Regions from separate parts of the Homo sapiens genome. Here region 2 is linked to region 1. Evidence: promoter capture Hi-C in human tissues and cell types (Jung and others, 2019). All regions are on one chromosome and are shown on one strand. Each heading gives the region's core, a stretch centred on a gene start or on the middle of the fragment in contact. The rest is flanking DNA. Distances are from core to core; before and after follow the strand shown. Region 1 holds the start of ERVV-1 (endogenous retrovirus group V member 1, envelope). Region 2 overlaps ZNF350 (zinc finger protein 350).

Evidence for each region. Contacts are between HindIII fragments. The study calls those that stand out against the background at their distance.
Region 2: a contact is called between a fragment that was not itself captured here and the fragment with the promoter of ERVV-1 in region 1, in 1 of the 25 tissues and cell types used here (psoas muscle).

What each region holds. Positions count from the first base shown.
Region 1 is chr19:53,012,025-53,015,479 of GRCh38, reverse strand. It overlaps ERVV-1 (endogenous retrovirus group V member 1, envelope), which reads right to left and starts at 1,559. Exons shown (of 1, transcript NM_152473.3): 1 at 1-1,559. The coding sequence starts at 1,389. The region is part of intron 1 of LOC124904758 (a long non-coding RNA gene); the gene reads left to right. The HindIII fragment of the contact is 3,820 bases long and covers 551-3,455 here.
Region 2 is chr19:51,980,969-51,984,423 of GRCh38, reverse strand. All of the region lies in intron 1 of ZNF350 (zinc finger protein 350), which reads left to right. ZNF350-AS1 (ZNF350 antisense RNA 1) reads right to left here. Exons shown (of 3, transcript NR_103847.1): 3 at 3,057-3,455. Among named protein-coding and RNA genes, the nearest start is that of ZNF350, 4.1 kb to the left of the region's middle. The HindIII fragment of the contact is 5,256 bases long and covers 1-3,455 here.

The DNA.
Region 1 (3,455 bases), core at 310-2,809:
AGCTGGTCCCAGTAAAGGGACAAACCATGTGAGGGAGGGGAGGGCAGACTTCACAGCCTCCCAAATGGACCCTGCTGAATCACCTTTTCCAAAGTTATGGAGCCACGTAACCTCATCATAGATCTTTTTTATATCCTCCTCTATCGCCCCACTGTTATTGACATAAATGCAACAGGATTTACTGATCACTGCACAGACTCCACCCTGCTCTGCTAAGAGGTAATCTAAGGCCAATCTGTTGTTCATGACTACATTTGCTAGAGAATCTATGGAGGCCTTGAGTTTAGAGATGCTATCTCTGGTACTCTTAGCTATGTTGTCTATTTGTCTGGAGAGATTTCTGAGGGTGACATCATGATAAGTGAACCCTCCCCATGGGGCGATCATTCCTATGGCCGCACCCATCCCTGCCAGTATTAGACCCAGAGCTCTTTTCTGTCTGGGTTGGGTGGTGTTATAAATGGTCACACCTATCCCCCGTGGTCCCAAAAGTCCCACAGCACATTCTCCCGTATGTTGGATGTTATTAATGCAAGTGTAGAGGTTTGCCACAGGGGGGGTTGAATAAGTTATCTTAGGACTTCCATCAAAGGGCAGTTTATTTTTTTGTGGCCCACATAAAAATACATAGCCAGGAGGGGTACAGGCCCACCGGGGGATGTGGCTGTCGAACCACTTGTGTAACTGCGATTTCCACCCTGCTGGAATAGTTTGATTGCATGCAGGGGATAGAGGCCCTCCCAGGGGAACAGTAGATTTTGGCCATGTGGGGACAGTGTGTGCCTTGGGAAGCAAATATAGAACCCTCCATGTGATTAGCTCTTTTCCTTCCCAAGCTGCACAGCGGTTTTGGGGTGACTTGTCTCGATAATCGTTCATTTGTTTAGCTGGACACCAGTGAGTCAAGTTAGGGTGGCAGCCTGCTGGGGAGAAGCTCATGGGATGGATGGTGGGACTGGGGAATCCCTCCTCAGAGGTGTTCTTCCTGTCACAGTGTCCTTCAGGGCATGGACAACAGGTTTGGTTTAGAGAAGAGCAGTTGTAGAAATAGAAAGAAGTTTTAGAGCTTTGATTGAAAGGTGGAGTGAGATCCAGGCAGGGGACTTGGTGCGCTGAGTTAGCAAGCGAAACCTGGAGCGGAACAGATTTATGTTGGCCTTCAGGGATTCCTGAACCAAATGTTAGGTTTAAAGAAAAATTTCTTACCAAAATATATTGGTAAGATGAGGACCTGGTGATGAAGTTGTGGCAGATCCAACAGTTGCTTAGATGGTTTCCCGAAGCAATTATTTTGGAAAAACTGACAAGGGAATTTTCATTCCACTGTGCCTGTGAGAGTAGGGGCATGGGAAGGAGGGAAAGATAAAGGAAAAGGAATTTCTCTGTCATAGCTGATTCTCCCTTAAGCTTTGTGAAAGCAAAAGGAAAGTGCTGAAAATAGGAGAGACAAATAATGAAATGGTTCGATGGAGTGTTTAGTGAGAAATCAGGCTGTTATCGGGACTTCAGGTGGCATGCCAGTGTGGGTCAAAATAAGGAGAAGAACCGATGCCACCGCAACCAAGATTCCCCGTACTGAGAGACCTTTTTTTGAGGTGAAAGGAGAGAAGGCTTTACTTATCTTTTCACTTGAAGAGGAATTGGAAGCTCTCCAGTGGCTGGCTCATGAGACTACTCAGATGCTGATTCTGTTGTTGGTTCTTCGGGACCTTCTCACAGTTTTACTCAGGAGTGATGTATCCAACTAGAGATTCCAGAAACTTTGATAGCTGTCGGGGTAGAAAGTAATAAAGGGGCCTTTCCATAAAGGAGAGACCCAGGCTAGTTGAGACCTGGGTGACCCATCTCTCCAGGTTTTGATGAGGACTTGTGACCCTGGCTAGTATAAGGGTTGATTACTGGAGGGGTCAGTGGCAGGCAGTACCTTTTGCTCAAACTCCTGGATGGCTTGTTGAAATTGGGCCAGTGATGTTATGTATTTGATTAATTGGGTAACTTCTGGATCTAACATTAGGTCTGCATGTAGGAAGGCATAAGTAATATTAGGGGTCATGCTCAGAACAGTGCTACGGACAGGAGTTCTAACCATGGTGAGGAGGTTTCCTGGCACACTTTGTTCAGGGTCCTTTTAATAGTTTGATTAGTGCTTTCTACCTTGCCAGAGGAATGTGTTCTCCAGGAGTGCTAGGAGTACTTTATTTCTAGGGCTTTTGTCACTAATTAAAGGGTGCGTGAAATAAAAACTGGGCCGTTGTCACTTTGTAAACACAAACTAAACCCACACTGAGGGGTGATTTTTTTTTTCTTTTTGTTTTTGAGACGGAGTCTCGCTCTGTTGTCCAGGCTGGAGTGCAGTGGCACAATCTCAGCTCACCACAAGCTCCACCTCCCGGGTTCACACCATTCTTCTGCCTCAGCCTCCTGAGTAGCTGGGACTATAGGCGCCCGCTACCACACCCACCTAATTTTTTCTCTTTTTTAGTAGAGACAGGATTTCACTGTGTTAGCCAGGATGGTCTCAATTCTCTGACCTCGTGATCCGCCTGCCTCGGCCTCCCAAAGTGCTGAGATTACAGAAGTGAGCCACCACGCCCGGCCGGGATGATTTTTTTTTTTTTTTTAAGAAGTACCTTGGCTACTTCCTGGGCCTTTTCTGTTCTTGTAGGAAAGGCTTTAACCCACCCAATAAAGGTGTCCACAAACACCAGAAGGCATTTATAGCCTCTACAGGCTGGCAATTGAGTGAAATACATCCATCAGTCTTTCCCTGGGTAAGCTTCCCAATGCTGAACTGGCTCAACTAAGCAGGACAGGGAGCTGCATTGGCTCTGGCCGGTTGTCCTGGGTCACAAGGAGGCAAGGCTACGCGTTTGAGGCCAACCTGGGCAACATTGAACAAAAAAAAAAATTTGGCTGGGCACGGTGGCTCATGCCTGTAATCCCAGCACTTTGGGAGGCCGAGGCAGGCGGATTACCTGAGGTTGGGAGTTCAAGACCAGTCTGACCAGCATGGAGAAACCCCATCTCTACTAAAAATACCAAAAAAAAAAAAAAATTTTTTTTGGTCTTTTTTTGGTGGCACCTGCCTGTAATCCCAGCTACTCAGGAGGCTGAGGCAGGAGAATCGCTTGAACTTGGGAGGGAGAGATTGCGATGAGCTGAGATCACGCCGTTGCACTCCAGCCTGGGTACTAAGAGTGAAACTTTGACTCAAAAAAAAAAAAAAAAAAAAAAAAAAGCAGGGCAGCGTAGGGCCCTGGGGGCTATTACAGGCACAGGATGCACAGGTGTTAAAGACCTGACAAATAGTCTAGTAGAGCCCTTTCCTGGAAAAGAGGTTTTTGCACATGTGCTGGAGATGATGTCTCCCAAAGTGACATGACTCATGGAGTGCTCTCACAAGTTTTTACTGGAGGGCCTAGGAAAGTGGAGAATTCCTCCCACTGTATACCACA
Region 2 (3,455 bases), core at 338-2,837, 1.0 Mb after region 1:
CCTAGCAGGATATAGTTTGCTTTATAGGGTGCTTTATGTGGCCTCTTTAAAATATCTGGCCATACCCTAATAACATTGAGAGATTCTCCTATATTAATGTTCTTTAAAGCTTTATTGATATGTTTCTACCATTGAAATTGACAGTTGATTCTAAAATGGTTTTTGTGTATGTTGTGAGGGGGGTTTTAACTTTCTGTCCCCATCCCCAGTACCATTTATTGATTTTTTTTTTTTTTTTTAATTTTTTTAGATAGAGTCTTGCTCTCGTCGCCCAGGCTGGAGTGTAGTGGCGTGCTTGGCTCAACTGCAACCTCTGCCTTCTGGGCTCAAGTGATTCTTGTGCCACGGCCTCCCGAGTAGCTGGAATTACCAGCAGGTGCCACCTTGCCTGGCTAATTTTTGTATTTTTAGTAGAGATGGGGTTTCACCATGATGGCCAGGCTGGTCTCCAACTCTGGCTCAAGTGGTCCACCTGCCTGAAGGGGGCCTGCCCCTCCACACCTGTGGGTATTTTTTGCAAGGTGGAAATGAGAGACTGAGAAAAGAAATCAGACACAGAGAGAAAGTACAGAGGAAGAAAAGTGGGCCCAGGGGACTGGTGTTCAGCATATGGGGGACCCACACCGGCACTGGTCTCTGAGTTTTGTTAGTATTTATTGATTACTATTTTTACCATCTTGGTGAGGGGGGTGTGGCAGGACTATAGGGTAATGGTGGGGAGAGGGTCAGTAGGAAAACATGTGAGTAAAGGACTCTGTGTTATAAATAAGTTTAAGGAAAGGTCCTGTGCCTTGATGTGTACGTAGGCCAGATTTATGTTTGACTTTACACAGACATCTTAGTGTAGTAAAGAGTAGTATTGCCGCCAGTATGTCTCACCTTTAGTTATAAGGTGGTTTTCTCCTATCTTAGTAAATAGAATGTATGATTGGGTTTTATACCGGGACATTCCATTCCCAGGGAGGAGCAGGAGACAGATGGCTTTCTCTTATTTTAACTGTAAAGAGGTCTTCCTCTTTCACTAATCCTCCTCAGCACAGACCCTTTACGAGTGTTGGGCTGGGAGATGGTCAGGTTTTTCCCTTCCCACGAGACCATATCTCAGGCTGTATCAGTGGGAGGAAACCTTGGACAATACCCAGGCTTTCTTGGGCAGAGGTCCCTGCGGCCTTCCGCAGTGCATTGTGTCCCTGGGTACTTGAGACTGGAGAATGGTGATGACTTTTACCAAGCATACTGCCTGCAAACACATTTTAACAAAGCACGTCCTGCACAGCCCTAAATCCATTAAACCTTGAGCCAACACAGCACACGTTTCTGAGCACAGGGTTGGGGCTAGGGTTACAGATTAACAGTATCTCAAGACAGAGGAACTTTTCTTTGTACAGATTAAAATGGAGTTTCTTATGTCTTCCTCTTTCTATATAGACACAGTAACAGTCTGATCTCTCTTTCCCCCACACCTTCCTCAGCTTCCCAAAGTGCTAGGATTACAGGCGTGAGCCACGGCGCCCTTAGTTCCATTTATTGAAAAGACAGCTTTTATCTACTTCCCTGTAGTGCTATCATTGCCATTGAGTCTCTATATGTGCTTAATTCTGCTTATAAGGATTTTATTCTGTTCCTTTGTCCTATTTGCCTGTTATTGTACTAATATTGTGCTGTCCTAATTAAAGTAGCTTTATAAGTCCTCATAACTGATATGGCAAGTCTTCTAACTTTTTTTTCAAACTTTAAAAAAAAGTTTATAGCTATTTAAACTTTTCAGTATCAGTTTGGGATTGTGACTGTGATTTCATTGAATCTGTAGATTTGGGAGACTTGACATTTTTAAAATGCTTTGTTTTCCAGCCCATCTTTATAGTACATCTTTGCATTTATTTAAAACTGTTAAAATTTATCTCAGTAAATCTAATTTTAAAAATATATTCGAGTTCTTCTAAATGATATCGTTTATGTCAGCCTAAAAGAGGAAACTGCACAAAATACAATTTTAAAGAGTTTACTTGAGCCAAAATGAGGACAGCTGCCTGGGAAAATACTTTCAGGTTGCCTTGGTTAAGTGCTCTGTTAGGATTTTGTTAGAAACAGGTTTTAAAGTCAAAAGGGAACAAACCGTGAGCTGACATAAAGTTGTTTGGCAAGAATTCTCATTGGTTTACAGAAATAATATCAATTAACAATTGGCTGTACATTGTTAACTATGGGGTTTTATGAGTTAGGATGTCCAGTGAATGGCATTTTATGGCTACTCAGTGTGAGTTAGTCTAGAGCCTACATAGCAAGTGGCTTTAAGAGATAATTATTTAGCTTGAGGGGGAAATGAGATGTGACTATTGTCACATTAAATTTTTTTTTTAGTTTTTAATTTTTTCTTTTTTCTTTTTTTCAGGGGAACCCCTATCAGAAAGACTGCTGTCACATTTTAATGCCTCTCTAGACCTGATAATTTAAAGGGAGTCACATTCCTCAGATAAAAGATTCATTTCTTTCTCATTTATAAATTTTATTTTGTTTGTTGATGGTCTGTTCTGTCAGTTACTAGGAAAGGTCTGTTAAAGTCTTTAGTCTGAATTTTCTATTTCTTGTTTTTGGTTCTATTTTTTGCTGTATACATTTCAAGACTGTTGTTAGGGGTATACATATGGTGTATTTCTATGAATGAAGAGCCAAATTTCACCTCTTTTCAGTGAGCATTGTTTCTCTTTCTCTCTGTTAATTCTTTAGGATTTCTGGTCAGTTTTGTCTGAGATATAGTTATAACAGATTATCTTTGGTTACTCTCTCTGTGGCATATTGTCTCCAACCTTTTATTCTCAAGCTTCCCATATCATTTTGGTTCAGACATATCAACTATAATAACCGCATGTGGGGAGGCTGAGGCGGGTGTGTGATGAGATCCGGAGTTGAAGGCCAGCCTGACCAAGATGCTGAAATCCGATCTCTACTAAAAATACAAAAATCAGCCAGGCGCGGTGGCGGGCCGTAACCCACATGGACCCATGGGACTGCACAAATGGGGGTGAACGTGGGAATAAAGACAGGAGACAAAAGAGTATATTTGGGAGAAGGGGTCAGGGAGCACCTTACCTCTAGTGGACAAGGGCCCTGAGCTTTACACAGCCCTCCGTATTTATTAGGCAAAAGAGATAGGAGGGTGGGGGGGTGGAAGAAGGGGTCGGCTGCTCAGTTCAGAGTAGGCTTGCAAGACTGCATTCTCTAGATGTCGCAGTAGATAACCTCGGTGCCAGGGAGTGATTGCCTCCAGCAAACCTTATGTTGGCAGGAGCAGTCCTGAGTTTGCTCACATCCTGTATTCATGATAAACAGTTTGCTGTTTGATCATATAGCCTCCAGCAGAATGCTGAGTTGGTCACGTCCCACAGGCCTTTGGCTCCCTGCATATCCCCCTTTCTGTTTATGTATTAATTGAAAGAATGTAAGGCTGGGCTGGG